5 separate regions of the Homo sapiens genome follow, and regions 1, 2, 3 and 5 are each linked to region 4. Evidence: promoter capture Hi-C in 16 types of primary human blood cells and fetal thymus (Javierre and others, 2016). All regions are on one chromosome and are shown on one strand. Each heading gives the region's core, a stretch centred on a gene start or on the middle of the fragment in contact. The rest is flanking DNA. Distances are from core to core; before and after follow the strand shown.

What was found. Contacts are between HindIII fragments. The CHiCAGO score rates a contact against its expected background, and 5 or more counts as called.
Region 1: a fragment that was not itself captured here is called in contact with the fragment with the promoter of SLC25A14 in region 4 in 4 of 17 cell types (non-activated CD4 T cells, activated CD4 T cells, fetal thymus and 1 more); the score reaches 7.2 in non-activated CD4 T cells.
Region 2: a contact is called between a fragment that was not itself captured here and the fragment with the promoter of SLC25A14 in region 4, in 1 of 17 cell types (total CD8 T cells). The highest score is 5.1, in total CD8 T cells.
Region 3: a fragment that was not itself captured here is called in contact with the fragment with the promoter of SLC25A14 in region 4 in 2 of 17 cell types (non-activated CD4 T cells and naive B cells); the score reaches 6.1 in non-activated CD4 T cells.
Region 5: a contact is called between a fragment that was not itself captured here and the fragment with the promoter of SLC25A14 in region 4, in 11 of 17 cell types (activated CD4 T cells, total CD4 T cells, naive CD8 T cells and 8 more). The highest score is 9.3, in activated CD4 T cells.

Annotation. Positions count from the first base shown.
Region 1 is chrX:130,888,201-130,891,364 of GRCh38, forward strand. All of the region lies in intron 2 of ENOX2 (ecto-NOX disulfide-thiol exchanger 2), which reads right to left. Among named protein-coding and RNA genes, the nearest start is that of ENOX2, 13 kb to the right of the region's middle. The HindIII fragment of the contact is 1,123 bases long and covers 757-1,879 here.
Region 2 is chrX:129,594,289-129,597,396 of GRCh38, forward strand. No RefSeq gene overlaps it. Among named protein-coding and RNA genes, the nearest start is that of OCRL, 56 kb to the left of the region's middle. The HindIII fragment of the contact is 2,500 bases long and covers 383-2,882 here.
Region 3 is chrX:129,577,482-129,580,746 of GRCh38, forward strand. The region is part of intron 18 of OCRL (OCRL inositol polyphosphate-5-phosphatase); the gene reads left to right. Among named protein-coding and RNA genes, the nearest start is that of OCRL, 39 kb to the left of the region's middle. The HindIII fragment of the contact is 1,167 bases long and covers 1,401-2,567 here.
Region 4 is chrX:130,338,531-130,341,423 of GRCh38, forward strand. SLC25A14 (solute carrier family 25 member 14) reads left to right here and starts at 1,389. Exons shown (of 11, transcript NM_001282195.2): 1 at 1,389-1,446; 2 at 1,577-1,823. The coding sequence starts at 1,749. RefSeq lists an enhancer at 1,021-1,594 and a silencer at 1,407-1,616. The HindIII fragment of the contact is 19,423 bases long and covers 1-2,893 here.
Region 5 is chrX:130,907,720-130,910,987 of GRCh38, forward strand. No RefSeq gene overlaps it. Among named protein-coding and RNA genes, the nearest start is that of ENOX2, 6.1 kb to the left of the region's middle. The HindIII fragment of the contact is 1,933 bases long and covers 601-2,533 here.

The sequences.
Region 1 (3,164 bases), core at 68-2,567, 550 kb after region 4:
AGCTATGTGCAGGACCCACTTCATTAGGTGACTTGAGAAAGCACTTTACATGTAAGTGCTTCAGTTTTACTCATCCACTAAACTAAAGCTCATTTTTAGACGGATTTTAAAATTAATCACGAGTAGGAACAAAAAGGAGATAGTGTCTTTGGGAGGAAACATGATACAACCGAAGGAGCACTGGGGCTGGGTATCAGGAAACCTGGGTTCAGCTTCCAGTTCTACAACTTTCTAACTATGTGACTCTGGCCAAGTCACTTAACTTCTTTGAGCCTAAGTTCCCTTTATTTGTTAACTGGAGATAATAGTACCTATCCTGACTGTCTCACAGGATTGCTGTGAACAGCTAATGAGATAATAGGTATGAAAACCCTTTTGTAAATTGTAAAGGGTTATACAATTGTATGGGATTATTACTACCATGCCCTAAACAAATCTTGCCTTAATGATTGAAGTGAGGCACCTCTATCACATAAGGCAAATAAAAAGAAAGAACTAATATAATTTCATGAAACACTGCTCAATTCTTACAATTTTTAAATTAGACGGAATCGCTGTTTGCTCTTAAAATTCTATAGCAGGGAACGTTTTTGAGAAAATTTTAAAATAATACATCAAAAGTTTATTAAAGAGACTGGAGCCCTCTAAATTCTCTCTTTCCTTTCTGGAAAGTCAGTCCATTTTTCTTCATATGGTCTAGCATTATGTCCCATCTGGAATGCAAACTACTAGATAATGAGCATCTCCTTTTGTTCAAGCTTTCTATTTGCCTGTTACATCCTCATTGCCCAGTGTGTTGGGGGAGGATTCAAGGTGATTAACTAAATCTAAATCCACAAGGTAAAAATCCAAAGTTATGCTTTATGAGGCTCCAAGCTGCCTTGATCCTATGTATACAGTGACCAGCTGGCTTCAGCTGGGACACAATTTTAGCACATGAAGTCCTGGGGTGGCCACACCTGGGGCACTAAATGATCCAGGCAATGTTTGGGGATCTTTGGTTCAGCCAAATCCCACATGTCCTGATTTCCATCTGTATGGTGGTTCCCAAGTGTGTTTGTCCACATGAACCAAATCTGAAGCAGCCAAAAGAAAGGTGGGGGATAGAGCAGGGATATCAGATGTCAGCTCCTCTTGGTCCCATCCAGTGCTATCTGTGCCCTCAAACAAGTGCCCATCCTACTTCTTGTAAGAAGAAAGAAAACTTTTTCTAATTGCCCCTTTGAACGTCATTGCTACTACTGAAGATGCCAGTAAAATATATATCCAAAATCTATGTTAAGCCAATTGGGAAAAGGATAATATTAATCACATAACAGGTAATTGGTAGCTAAGAGCAAGTGAGCTGCTGAAAGGGGGAAGGGGAGAAAAAGACAAGAGAGGAGGAGGGAAACAGAGGGGAGGGGTGGAGAAAAGAGAAAATGAATCTAAAGTGAGAGCTTTCTAATCAGAAACATACTTGCTGAAATCATCCAAAGTCTCACCTACTATAATAAAAAGTGCTTGTCTTTTGAGGTATTGGGAGTGGCCCCCTAACCATCAAAGCTGCAAACCTAGCCTTCCAACTGCTTAGGGAAACAGTCAAGAGCCTGAAAAGGTACTGACAGCCCTAGCACCAGATCTCACTTTCCTCTGCCATTCAGAAAGTGAGTCAGGTGGGATACAATTCTCCAGAGGCCTCATCCCTGCTACCGTCCACCACAGCCTCACTGGCAGCATGGCTGCCCACTAAGGAAGGTGTCAGTCCAATTTCAGGTTCAGCAAAGGAGGCTTGCCTGTGACTTTTAAAACCACATTGGTAAGAAAGGAACAAAGGCTGTATTTCAGAATAGGACTGTTCTCCCTTTGGGCATTGCAACTAAACTCCTTCACAAATTTAAGCTTGAAATTCATATTCCCCAAGTTCCTCAGAAGGGCCATTCAAAGTAAAGGGAAAGGACAGGAAAGATGATTTTTTTTTTGTTAGCTTCTTTCTGACAGTCAAAAAATGAGGAATATGACTGACAGAGTGTCCCAAAAGGCAATGAGGTGGGAGGCAGTAGTTTCAACCCAGGTTAGCAAGAAGGGCAATGAAAGCATCCTTATAAAAACAAACACGCATACCAAAAACCATTGCACTGTTTCCATTATCCCGATTTCAAGCTCCAGAATGTAAGCACTAATGGTTCCCTAAACCACCCAAGCTCCTCCTCGGCAGCCGTCACCAAGCCTGACTGATTTTTTTCAAATGAATTTCCATCACTAGCCACCCCAGATTCTGAGTATTTTTGTCAAAAACAAAAGTCCTAGTGGAAGATTTCAAAGAACTAAGAACTTGAACCAAACCATGAACTTAAACGGGAAGACACAGAACTAATTTGCTAAATTCCAAACAAAACAGAAATTGTAACAGTTTGAAAGCAACAAAAACTAGCAAGCTGATTTGAACCAGAACAAAGTTTCATGTTTTCTGAATCAATCAAACTTGCACCAAACCCTGAGAGTCTAATCAGCTCAAGCTCCTGCAAAGAACACACAGCAAGGTTTGGTTTCACCTGTCTGAAAGCTGACAAGGGAACCACAGAATGAACACTGGATAAGGAGTCAGAAGAACTGACGTCTCCTGATTTTCTTCACTGTTTGATCTTGGTCAAGTCACTTCTACTCTCTTAGCCTCAGCTTGCTTGCCATGAAATGGCCAGGCTGGGATTGCCAATATCCCAATATCCCAGTTTTAATAGTCTATGCCAACTGTGGAATTTAGTCTAGTGATGAAACAGATAAAGTCACAATTTAGCCTTAATCTGCAGGAGGCAGAGAGATGGACCACCCCAACTCTTTTAAGGATTCATGTTTCTAGCTTATTTTGAAATATACTTGGCCGGGCATGGTGGCTCACACCAATAATCCTAGTACTTTGGGAGGCCCAGGTGGGAGGATCACTTAACCTCAGGAGTTCAAGACCAGCCTGGGCAAGAGAGTGAGATCCCACCTCTTAAATAAATAAATAAATAAAATTTTAAAAAGTTTTTTTTTTAAAAGAAATACACTTCATTTAAGAGTTGGTAACTGTCCTTGTTCAGCCTCAGAAATAACCTAATATACTTTTTCAGAATGTCTCTCCTCAAAAAAATGTTTCAGGAATAGTTTGTTTTCCTCAAGTGAAAGTTACAGATGAGTTGTTT
Region 2 (3,108 bases), core at 383-2,882, 740 kb before region 4:
CAGCTGGAGTGCAGTGGCATGATCGGCTCACTGCTGCAGCCTGACTTCCCAGGTTCAAGCGATGCTCCCACCTCAGCCTCCGAGTAGCTGGGACTGTAGGCGCACATTACCAAGCCTGGCTAATTAAAAAAAAAATAATTGTAGAGGTAGGGTCCCCCTGTGTTGCCCAGGCTGGTCTCAAACTCCTGGGCTCAAGCAGTCCTCCCACCTTGGCTTCACAAAGTGCTGGGATTAGAGGCATGAGCCCACCATGCCCTGCCTGGTCTTTTTAACTTTGCTGCCCTCCAATCCATTTTCCACGCAGCAGGCAGCATGACTTAATTACATCAGTCTCATCCCTCCCCTGTTGATAACCCTTCAGCGACATTTACAATGAAACCTAAGCTTCGCCATGGCCCACCAGGCCCTGCATCAATGGGTCTCAAATCTTCATGTGCAGAAGAATCACCTGGATACATTGTTAAAAAGCAGATTCCTAGGCTCCAGAAATTCTGAGTCAGTTGGTCTGAGAGGAGGCACAGGAGTCTGCATTCTAAATCAGGACCCAAGAGCATTTTGATGCAGGACCACACTTTGAGAATACCACCCTAAAGGATCTGACCTCTGCCTACCATAACCCTTCCTCACCCCTGCCAATATACTCTGATACTGTCCTTTTACTCCTCCCAGTGAGCTGAACTCTTTCCAGCCTCAGGGCCTTTGCATGTGCTGTTTACCCAGAAAACTCCTTCCTCTCTCTTTCTTGCCTCAGTCCCCATCTTTGCTGTGCCTAACCCTAAGTCACCCGCCCTGTCCCATTGACTCTCTGCCCTCATTCCTGGGCTTCCTGGTATAGCATGCTGGCTGACTGCCCCTGGGCTTGCCATGTACTCTTCCACAATCTTCCTCTTCCTCTCTTGATGACCTCACGTACCTGCTCCACGGGGCCTGGGGAGGCAGGAAGCTATAGTGGTTCTTCACATAGGCTCTAATGACCAGACTGCCTGAGTTCAAATCCCAGCTCTGCCACTTCTAGATGTGTGACCCTGATCAAAAGTTAATTGACGTCTCTGTGCCTTGGTTTCCATGTCTTTTCTCTCCAGCTTTATTGGGTATAATTGAGAAGACAAATTGTACGTATTGAAGGTGTTTCCACATCTTAAAAGTAATGATAGCACCTTTCCTCATAGTATCATCATGAGGATGAGATCAGATACTACATTTCCAGGCCTTGGAACAGTGCCTGGTGCCTAAGTGCTAAATAAATGGCAGCTAGTGCAATTATTCCCAAGCCCTCCATGGGCCTCCAGGCCCAGAACCCGCTTCTGCTGCCCTTCAGCTCCCAGCAAGTGACTGTACCCTTTACTTTGTGAAAATGTCAAAACAGCCTTGCCCCCTGCACATCAAAATGTCTTCAGCTTAACCTCATCCCTCCCCCTTTCCATCTGTCTGAGAATAAGCGGTCCTCCTCGCCAAGACCAGCTCTTCCACCTGCACTTTTGAGCCCTTCTCCTCCACCCTCTCTGGACTTTTCCCCATCAACCATCACTCCTCCTCCTACATCTCAGTATGGGTTATTCACTTGACAAGTATTTGTTGAGTGGCTCCTGTGCGCCCTGTGCTGTTCAAGGTGCTGGGGATCTAGAATTAAACCAGACAAGGTTGCCGCTCTCATGGTGCCTTCATCAAGAGGGCAGGGCAGGGATGAGGGTGGACAGACATGCAAATTAACAGTACCCAAGGTCACTACAGATCCTGACAAGTACTGTGGAGAGTATCAAACGGGGATGCACTCGAGGGTACAGCGGGGGGCCTTGGTCAGGAAAAGTTTATTTGAGGAGGTGATGTTTTAGCTGAGACTTAAACCTCAGGAAGCCAAGACACCGTATCTTGATTTGAATACCCCCAAAAAGAGCCACACGTGCAAGATCTGGCAAAAGACATTCTGAGCAAAGGAAAAGAGAAATGCAAAGGCCCTAAGGCAGCAAAACAGCTGGCTGTGCTCAGGGGACAGCCAGGCAGAACTCTGTGAGGGACAGGACTTGCTGGACAACTGATGAGCAGGAACGTGATCACAGAGGGCCTGAGGAACCCCAGGCAGGAGCTTGCATTTCATTCGACACCACAGGGAGCCATGGCTGGCTTTACTCAGGGAAGTGACGTGATGTGACTTCTGTATGCTCCTTCTCCTAACCTTAGGAAGAGTAATAACTAATAACTCTAGCTGTCATTTATCCCAGATACTAATACATTTAACATCACTTTTGCCTTTACGATAGCCTGATAAAGTACTACATTATCCCACTTTTTTTTTTTTTTTTTAAGACGGAGTCTAGCTCTGTCACCCAGGCTGGAGTGCGGTAGCATAATCTCGGCTCACTGCAACCTCCACCTCCCGTGTTCAAGCTATTCTCCTGCCTCAGCCTCCCGAGTAGCTGGGATTACAGGCACGTGCCACCACGCCTGGCTAAGTTTTGTATTTTTAGTAGTGACAGGGTTTCACCATCTTGGCCAGGCTGGTCTGAAACTCCTGACCTCGTGATCCACCCGCCTTGGCCTCCCAAAGTGCTGGGATTACAGGTGTGAGCCACCATGCCCGGCCATTAGCCCACTTTTATAGGTGAGAAAACTGAGGCTCAGAGAGACAGCATAACTTGGTACTCGGCTAGTGGCTGACCAGAAAATGACTTCTGAGCCCAAAATTTGTGCTCTTAAACACAGCCATTGTCTCCCCAGCTGGAGTGGGCATGAAGGTGAGGGTGCTTCTTAAAACCCCTATCCCTTCTAGCTACATCCCAAGATTTCATGTCAGCTAGATTGCCTGCTGGCAGGTCAAATTCAACTTCTCTTTGACCTTGACCAGCTTCTCCTGGCATCCTCCTCTCTCCCATCACCCAGGCCTAAGCTTTTGGTTATTTTTGGCCCCTGCCCCACTTTCTAATCAGTTACCAATTGCAATTCAACAAATATTTATCCAGCACCTGCCAAGTGCAGGCTACCATGCAGGGTTCTGAAGGAAACCAAAATGGGTGAGACTGGTCGTTACAAGACAAGACAGACATAATATTTTTGTTTGTTTTGTTTTATTTGACACGGAGTCTCACTCTGTTGCCCAGGCTGGAGTGCAGT
Region 3 (3,265 bases), core at 734-3,233, 760 kb before region 4:
ACCAAAGAAAATTAGGTGAGGTGACAGCATACGTTATCCTTACCATTAGTATTCACATGGATCCTTTAGGCCTAGCCAGAGCGAGTGATTGTATCTAGCAGGGAGGTCTAGACCAGCAGGCAGGCTGCTGGCTTGTCTGAGTCCGATCTGTTCTGTTGCCATGGAATTGTTTTAGCTGTGACTCAGATAGCAGATTAAAACACTGAGTCCAGCCCCGGCATTCTTTCTTGGAATTATACTTATTTCCCCAGAGCCCTCATGACTGAGTATATTACCTCTGTTTGAGAGAGAACCATTTTCTTCAGAAATTCATATCCTACCGTTCTGCTGTTTTTCATGATAATTGTTTTTCTCCTAACATTATATTTCTGTCTTTTAGATTTTAGTATTTCACCTTTTAGAATACATTTTGGATGATGAAGTTGTTTTTCTTATTTCTCCTACCCCCTTTCCTTCATCTCAGACATTATTTCCCAGCTTTCTTTGTTTCAGCTTTTTATTATGAAAAATGTCAAATGTGCAGAAAAATGGAAAGAACAGTACAACACACCCCCACATGCCTTCTGTACATATATACACACAGATGTTTTTTGCTGTGTCATGTAAAATTTAGTGGTAATATGTCACTTCACCACTGAACACTTCAGCCTGCATCTCTTAACAAAAAGGGCACACTTAAGCACAATACCATTATTATGTATAAGAAAACTAACAGTAATCCATAGTATCATTTAACATTCGGTCCATATTCAGATTTCTTCAGTTGTCCCAAGAATTTCTGTTATACCTTTTTTTAAACCAAAATCCAATCTGGGTTCATATAGTATTTGGTGAGGTCTCTGAAGTCTCTATTGGAGTAGTACAGTTCCTACTTTCTTTAGTGACATTGACTTTTTTAAGAGTCCAGTACAAATGTCCAGTCAAGGGTCAACCATTTCCTAAATTTTTCTGGTTGTTTCCTTCTTGTTTTTTTTTTTTTTAAACTTATCCCATTTATACTCTCTCCTTCCACCTTCATGTAAACAGGAACCTACCCTTATTTTTAGTCAGAGTCAGTGAAGATATTAGAATATCTTTGCCATTAATATGAAAAACTGCAAAGCCATTAATATGAAAAACTTTGCAGTTTTTCATATTCTGGGATTGGCCAGAAGAGGCTCAACCCTCATAAAGTTTTTATTTTATGTAAAGTATACTATCAGGTAATTTTACCATGTTTGCCCATGAACAGAAAGGAACCAAAATCATTAGAGGAATGAATGGCTCTTTGGGAAGCCTTTTTCCTTCTTTTTGTGCACAAGTGATTGAGGGTTAAAATAATAGAACCCTGATCATTTTTAATTACAGAATTTCTGAGTTTTTATTAAATTGTATGTGTGTGGACATCATTTTTCTTTTAAAGCTTTTATTTTGTAGGATTTAGGGTTCTTTTCACAGTCTGTTGCATTTCAGTGTTATTAAATTCCTGTATCTCATTGATGAGGAAATTATCTATACAGGTTGATTATCCATTATCCAAAATGCTTGGGACCAAAAGTGTTTCAGATTTCAATCTTTTTCAGATTTTCAAATATATGCATTATATACTTACCAGTTCAGCTTCCCTAATCTGGAAATCGGAAATCTGAAATGCTTCAATGAGCATTTCCTTTGATCATCATGACAGTACTCAAAAAGTTTCGAGTTTTGGAGCATTTTGGATTTCTGGATTGGGAATACTCAACCTGCATTACTGTGGAGCAGTAAACAAGAAATCTAAAAACAATTAGTATCCCATCTTTAATACCTTCTCACTCTGTTGTGACTTGATTTTGACCTTCTGAAATGATTCCTCAGGTATAGTATTCATGTTTTTTTTCCCCAAGACCCAATATCGTATTTCAAATCTCATGAGATGATGCTGTTAATAATGGTACCTGCCCTCTGTTGTATTATTTGCTCTAAAATTTTGGTAAAGCCAGAAACGAGTTCAATGTATGTGTTGTCTCTCTATGTACTGTTTTAGAAAGATCCTTATGCACTGTTTTAGAAAGATCCTTATGCCACACCATCTTCCCACCAAATGCAGAATGAAATAACTGACATAATTATTTTTCATCCTTCCAGCCCTTTTCATAATAGTGACTTTGCCACTCCTAGAATAGTTGAGATTAGCACAAGTGGGAAACGGATGAAAATCTACCATTTGTAATCATCTTTATTGTTTTTCAGAATTAAGATAGATTTTTCTGTTATATTAACTAGAATATTAAGTAGCAAATAATCCTCAATATTGATTCATTACACACTGGATACAAAGTATTATGGAGTTTATGTGAGTTCCCATAATTTAGTGGTGATGAAAGTATATTTGCACATAAAATATGGCTAAACTTTAAGTCATGGTTAATAGGGAGTTTGGTTAAAGATAATCTGAACATTAACCACCTTTACTGGCTAATGTCTGGTGTGCTTGGTAAGTCAGTATTTTGGAAAGTCGTTTAAAGTGACTGCTATGAAGGTTGTAGTTTGTATTAACAATAGGTTCCTTTCCTATGTTGTTTATTCAAGCCCTTATATGCTATAAAAGCTTATTGACTGACCAGCTAATCCCTATAGAAATCAGAATCAGCCTGTTTTCATTTTAATGAATATTTGATACATGTAACATTAACATGACTGAGAAATAAGTTTAGCACATAAGAATAAAGTGAACTAGGAAGGTGATTTGGAGTTAGTTATAGAAGTATTTTCAGTCAAGTCCAAGTACTTAAGAAACACTTATTAATATAGTGGGTGAGCAGGCTCTTCCAGGCTTAGAGGACATCTTGAATAAAGGGTAGAAGGTGAAAGTGAAAAGACCATGTATGAAAAACTGTAAGATTTCCCTGGGACAAGTGAAGATCAAGGATAAGAATGTATGAAGCTGGTTAGGGAGAATGGGGCAGGTGGTAGAGAGTCTTGAAGTCAATAGATAAGTTTATGCATGAGCCAGAGGGTATCTAGAACCATCAGAAGGGTTTGCTGATTAGTATGAGGTTGCAAATTGATATAGTTGGAAGAACATTCTGGTGTTACTTGTAGAATGGACTAATTGAAAGGAGACAAGACTTGAACTTGCCAGATGTGGCTAAGTTGTAAATACGGAGATGAAAAAAGTTGAGGGATGGGTAGAGAAACTATATTTGCTTGGGGACATATCTGTTGGGAGAACAATATCAAAAGTTTGAAATAACAGGAATAACTTGTTAATTTGTCCGTAGTGTTTTTTTCACTATGTTTTTAC
Region 4 (2,893 bases), core at 139-2,638:
ATAACCATTTAGGGCCAACTTGCACTGACTTTTCCTTATAACACATAAGCAATAAACCCTATTATTGCGTACTCTCGCGTGATTAGGGAACGTTGTTAAGAGGCTCAAAAATCGGACGTCATAGCTCAAAAATCGGACGTCATAGCACATTGGCTAATGGAATCACCCAGGGGCTTTGCGGTTTCCCCTTCCAGCAGCCAGAGGGGCCAGAGTCGGAAGCTGGGGGTCGGACTCTTGGCATCTTCTGGTGGATTATGAGGTTTGGATTAACTGGGATTTCCCGTTGGTGTTTTTCTGCCTCATCTGTTTAGCTTTTTGTGGTCCCCTTTTTGGTATCCAACTTGCTCTTTCTTAAGTGAAGTTTCTGATTAAAGCAAGAGCTTCGAGTAAGGGGTCTGACCGTAATTTTTCACTGGTTAATGTCTGACGTCCAGTAGGTGCTGTCTGGATCATTCTCCGTCCCTCCCTCCCTTCTTTCCCTCCCCCCCTTCCTTTCTCTCCCTTTCTCTTTTCTTTCTCTCTCTCCCTCCCTCCTTCCTTTCTCTTTCTCTCTCTCTCTCTTTCTCTCCTTTCTTGGATGGAGTCTTGCTTTGTCACCCAGGCTAGAGGGCAGTGGCGTGATCTCAGCTCACTGCAACCTCCACCTCCGGGGTTCAAGTGACTCTCCTGCCTCAGCCTCCCGAGTAGCTGGGACCACAGGTGCGTGCCACCACACCCAGCTAATTTTTTTGCATTTTTACTAGAGACGGGATTTCACCATGTTGGCCAGGCTGGTCTCAAAACTCCTGGCATCAAGTGATGCGCCCGGACCCTCAAAGTGTTGAGATTACAGGCGTGAGCCACCGCGCCTGGCCTTGAACTTTATTTTCTCATTGAGCCCAGGCACCTCACTAAATTCGGCTCACCCCTATGTCTCACTTTCCTACTTTTGTTTTGAAGCCTTTGCCCCACCCCCTCCACGTTGCCGCCTTTTTCGTACTGAGCGCGCAGGGCACTACGCCCACCACTCCCCTTGACCCACTCCTCAAGCCCTGATACCGGGGCGAGGCCCCTTCCTTTTCTAGTCCTTCTACGCGCCAGGTGGGTGGGTTTCGCGGTGACGAGGCGACACCTCTTTCCCCTCTGGCGAGCACGTTAACTGGGGAAGCTACCAAATTCTCACGCCTTAGCTGCCCTGCCTCCACCTCCCGCAAGTCCGGTTGCCCCTCTAGGCTTCTGCGCCTGCAGTGGTTCCGACCCTCGCCTTTAGAACTCTGCCGCTTCCGCCTCTTATTTCGCGCCTTTGTTTTTAGTTTTGGAAGGGGCGGAGTTGAAATGGCTGCGCCGCGGTTGCCGAAGCAACGCTTTGGTTACTTCCGTTGGTTTCAATGCTTCCGGGTTGGCGCTGCAGTGGCGTTTCCGACTGTGGGAGCCTCAGCTTCCCAGTCGTCCGATGAGCCCGAGCAGGTGAGGGGGAGCTCCTGGACTTCCAGGCTGGGGAGCGGGGCTGGGCCGCGCCAGGCCGCGCGGGGCCGGGCTGGCCTGGTTCCCGGCCTGGGAGGGGCTTAACGGTCCTCTGGTCTCTCTCTCCCCTCAGCTGAGTCCCTTCCCTGTCTTTCACTCTTCTGGCATCGGTGGTTTTACTTCTTCGATTGAACCCTGCTTCCTCGACCCCCCTGGGAGGCCGCCTTCTTCAGGCGCCTCCCTTCTCTCCACGAGCTCGCTCTGACAGCTGAGGAACTGGCAAGATCCTGCTACCCAGAGGGTGAATGGGTATCTTTCCCGGAATAATCCTAATTTTTCTAAGGGTGAAGTTTGCAACGGCGGCCGTGATTGTAAGCGGAGTAAGCAAACACCTCCATTGTATTAGTGTAAGGGATACTGTTGAAAGATGCTCCCCTTCGGTTTCTACCCCCTGTCACTCCTGAGGTCAAGGCATTGAAGGCATCTATTAAAATGCAGTTCAGTTACTTGATTGGCATGACAGCTGTTATCAACATGAATTAGTTTCTCAGACAGGATAACAGCAGGGACATTTATGGTTTCCTGTCAGTGATTCCTTGTTGTTGTTGTTTTTCCCCCCAGCCTAGAGATGCCTAGCGTTATCATGAACTCTTCCCTCGTCTTCATTCCCTACATCATCGAGTTCTTTGTGTCTTCATTGGGGAAGTCTATCTCTAACCTCAGTGCCAACAAGCATCTTTGTCTGCTGTACTTTGCACCATCCTAAGCTAGTCTCCCTGCCTCTCCCGTTTGTAATGTAATCCACTGTGTTTGCTGCAGCCCTAATAGGCTAAAATGTGGTGGATTTCCTCAAGTCACTTCGTTGTTAAACACACACACACAAAACATGCAGCCCCCTCCTACACCCCCTACCCCCACCCCTTGGTTTCAAGCCTTTCAACATAACATGCTCCTTATCACACTTCTTGTCTGATACTGTTTCAGTCAACAAGGGAATTCTCTGTTCCAGTTAGGTTCCTTTCTTCTTGGCACAAACCATACTGATGCCTGCTTCTACATGCTGTGCTTGTTCCCACATTTGTGTTTCTGTTCATTCTCTCTTCCCTGCCCCTCTCCCTTACCTGCACCTAACCAGGTTGTACCTACCGTCTCTCAAGGTTCAATTTAGGTTCTCTCACCTCGGCAATTTTCAAATTAGTCAATCCCATGCTGGTTGTAGTCTTTTCTATGCTCCTCTTGCTCTTAAAGTTTGTACTACACAGTTTAGTACTTAATTTTTCTCTAACGCACTACTTTGATTTCTTCCACCAGATTATAAGCTCTTGAAAGGCAAGTACTGTATTTCGTACTTTTTTCTCTGTCCCATCTCATTGGTTATTCAGAAAAGACAGGTTGAGTGGTAAATATTGTCTTGGTGCTAGAACGAATATCTGTGTTTTTCAAATATGAT
Region 5 (3,268 bases), core at 317-2,816, 570 kb after region 4:
TCTAATATTCAGTCTGTTGCCATGTTAGGACATTACCTGTCATGTGCCCTAGAGCCTTGTCTCAAACCAGAGTTAGCATTTCATATATGGACAAAATTATGATACAGTTTGTGGCCAGGATTTCAATGATGAATATGAACAGGATTTGGGATGCATATTTGGCTAGAGTAAGTTCAAGGTGTGGTTTCTGACTTTAGCCAGTGTCAGGATTCTGTCTTTGTCCATAGCTCATATCAACAATGTTCTATGGAGCTAACTCACAGTGGCCTGTGTTGGCCCTCATTCTGTGGCCAGAGCAGGGCTCAGTCGGTGACCTGTATTAGCCATTTCAATTTGACCACTATCAGAGTTGAGTCTGGAGGGAGTAATTCCACTATGACTTTATGTAGCATTTGTGTTCACTGAGTATTGGTGGTAGTGCTATCTGATTAAACTTGTACCAGAGTTTGGGAGTTACCAATAACCAAGGTAAGGCTTACTATGAAGAAGGTTTTAAGGCTAAGAGTGTAAACAGGTTTTTTGGATTAGCTGTTGATGTTATTTGTCAGTCAGTGGATAGAGTTGAGATGAGAACAAACAACACATAAAATCCAGATTGAAAGCTTTAGAGGCTCAGGCTGTAATCAGGGTTTTGGGATCAGGATGTTGCCAGGGTTTGAGTTCAGAGTGTTCATTGCCTGTTGTCAGTCTGGCACTTAGACTCTGGCTTAGTGTAGCAGGCATTTCGGTATCAGTAGTAGAGTTCAGTCTTTGCTAATTGTTAGTGACCATAATGTGCCCAGTGCCATGGGTACATCTATTCACAATTGAGGACTAAGTTTGTGACCAGACTGATTGCTCAACCTCCAGCTAGTGCTAGGACTCAGTTTGTGGCCACTAATACAGTGAACTTTGTTTATGGGTTTAAGACTTGATATGTGACAAAGGTGAGTACTTAGTCTCAGCCTGTTGTTAGATCTGATAATATGAGCAGGATTTTGATTTAGTCTTGTAGGGTCAGGAATCATTTCTCTAACCAGGCTTAGGGCTTGGCCTTTAGGTCTCAGACTGTGGTGGGACTTACAGTCTTCATCCCAGCTCAGTATTCAGAATGTGGCCAGGAAGAGGGCTCAGATCTTAGCCATGGTGAGTTCCGTCTGTGCTCAGGGTTAGAATTAAATCTGTTGCAGGGTTTTAGGCCAAGAAAATGAAAAGTATTTGTTTTGTCTTTGTCTAGTTTGTCCTTCATTCATCTTCAAGGTTTGGGTTCAGTCTCTGCCCAGTGCTGGTGAGCAGCTTAATTTCTGGTATTAGGAATCAGTCGGTAGCCAGGGTTAAAGTTAAAGTTGTGGTTGAAATTGGGATCCAGTCTCGGGTGAACATTTAGCCAGAGATAGGGTTCAGTCTATCTCAAAAATTCAGGATCAGTCATTAGCCATTTGGAGAAATCAGATTTATTTTCAGGTTGAAAGCTCATGTCAGAGGTTAGGCTTATGGGCTCAGTCTGTGATGAGAGTTAGGAATTCAGTCTATGGCTAGAGTTAGAGATGCAGTCTGTAACCAGTTAGAAGCTGTAAGGTTTAGGGGTCAAATCAGTGGCCAGTGATAGGGCTCAGTCTGTCCCAGGATCAGTAGATTATTTCCTGATCAGATTTATGAACCCAGTCTCTGTCCAGGTTTAGAACTTGGGCTTTGAACATGGTTAAGACTCAGTTTGTGGCCATGTTCAGGGTTCTGTCTATAGTCAGGATTAGGACATATGCTGTGGTCAAAATATTCTCAAGTTTTGTGGAAGATTTGGTTTCACTTCTTGGCCATGATTAAGGCACAGAGTTGGGACAAGTTTAGAGTCTGGTCTCTGTACATGTTTTCGTCTCTGTATGAGGCCAAGTTTAGTAGTCATTCTGTTGCCAATGTTGGGGTCATTTTCTGGTTAGTGCTAAGTCTGGGAAATTGTAGCTGGGTTGGTTTCCAAGATCAGATCTCAGGCTGTGACCAAGTTAGAGCCTCAGTCTGTAGTCAGGGCTAGAGCTCAGTTAGTATCTATGCTGAGCACTCATTTTGTGGTCAGTTCAGGATGTTAAGTATATCCCAGAGTTAGGTCATGCAGTCTGTAGCCTAGTTTAGAGACTCAGCCTGGGGACAGACTTAGGGGCTATATCTGATGTTATTTTTGATCCCTGTATCGTGAATTAAGGACTTATACAGTAGCCATAGTTATGGTTCAATAGGGGATCAGGGTTAGAGATTCAGGTTGGGACCAGTCTTAAGTACTTACTCTTGGGCCAGATGTAGACAGTCAGTATGTAACTAGGCCTAGGGACTTGATTTAATCAGGATTAAGACCTTGGAGTGTGGCCAGAAAGTGGCTCAGTTTGTGGATAGAATTAGGGTCTTCATTTGTGGCCAGGGTTAAAGGCTTGGTGTGAAATTGGAGTTAAGCCTCCAAGTTCAGAGTTAGGAGTTTAGGCTATGTCTTGGGTTAGGTGTTTGGCTGGTGGTCAGGGTTAAACACAGGATCTGCATTCAGTGTTGGCAGCTTGCTCTGTGACCAAGCTTAAGAGACTGTTTGCTCAGCCTGTGGTGATAGTGATTGGTAATTATACATCAATAAAGTTGTCATAAAAGGTTAAAAAAGTGGATTCATACAAGTGAAATGGTAGGAATGATGCAGGGAAGAAACCATAAAGAGAGGCCGTTTACTGAATCAGGACCAGCAATGTCCTTGGTGTCTCAGAATTTTTGCTTAAGAAGGACAGGGCAAGCACATGAGATTGAGAAGAAAGGAAAGAACTGGTGACCAGGGAGCTGGTAACCCTGGGAAGTAGATATGTGCTTCTTGAAGGACAGACATTTTTATAAATTGTGGAATTAATGCAAGTTGGAAAACCTTGCAAAAAATGGAAAGTCCCATTTGGTTTTTTGTTTGTTTGTTTTGTTTTGTTTGTTTTTTGGGGATTTTTTTGAGACGGAGTTTCGTTCTTGTTGCCCAGGCTGGTGTGCAATGGCGCGGTCTTGGCTCACTGCAACGTCTGCCTCCTGAGTTCAAGTGATTCTCCTGCCTCAGCCTCCCAAGTAACTGGGATTACAGGCACCCACCCCCACGCCCAGCTAATTTTTTTGTATTTTCAGCAGAGACGGGCTTCACCATGTTGGCCAGGCTGGTCTCAAACTTCTGACCTCAGGTGTTCCACCCGCCTTGGCCTCCCAAAGTGTTGGGATTACAGGCATGAACCACCACACCCGGCCAGAAAGTCCCATTTGTTAAGCTCTTACATCATGTTCTTTT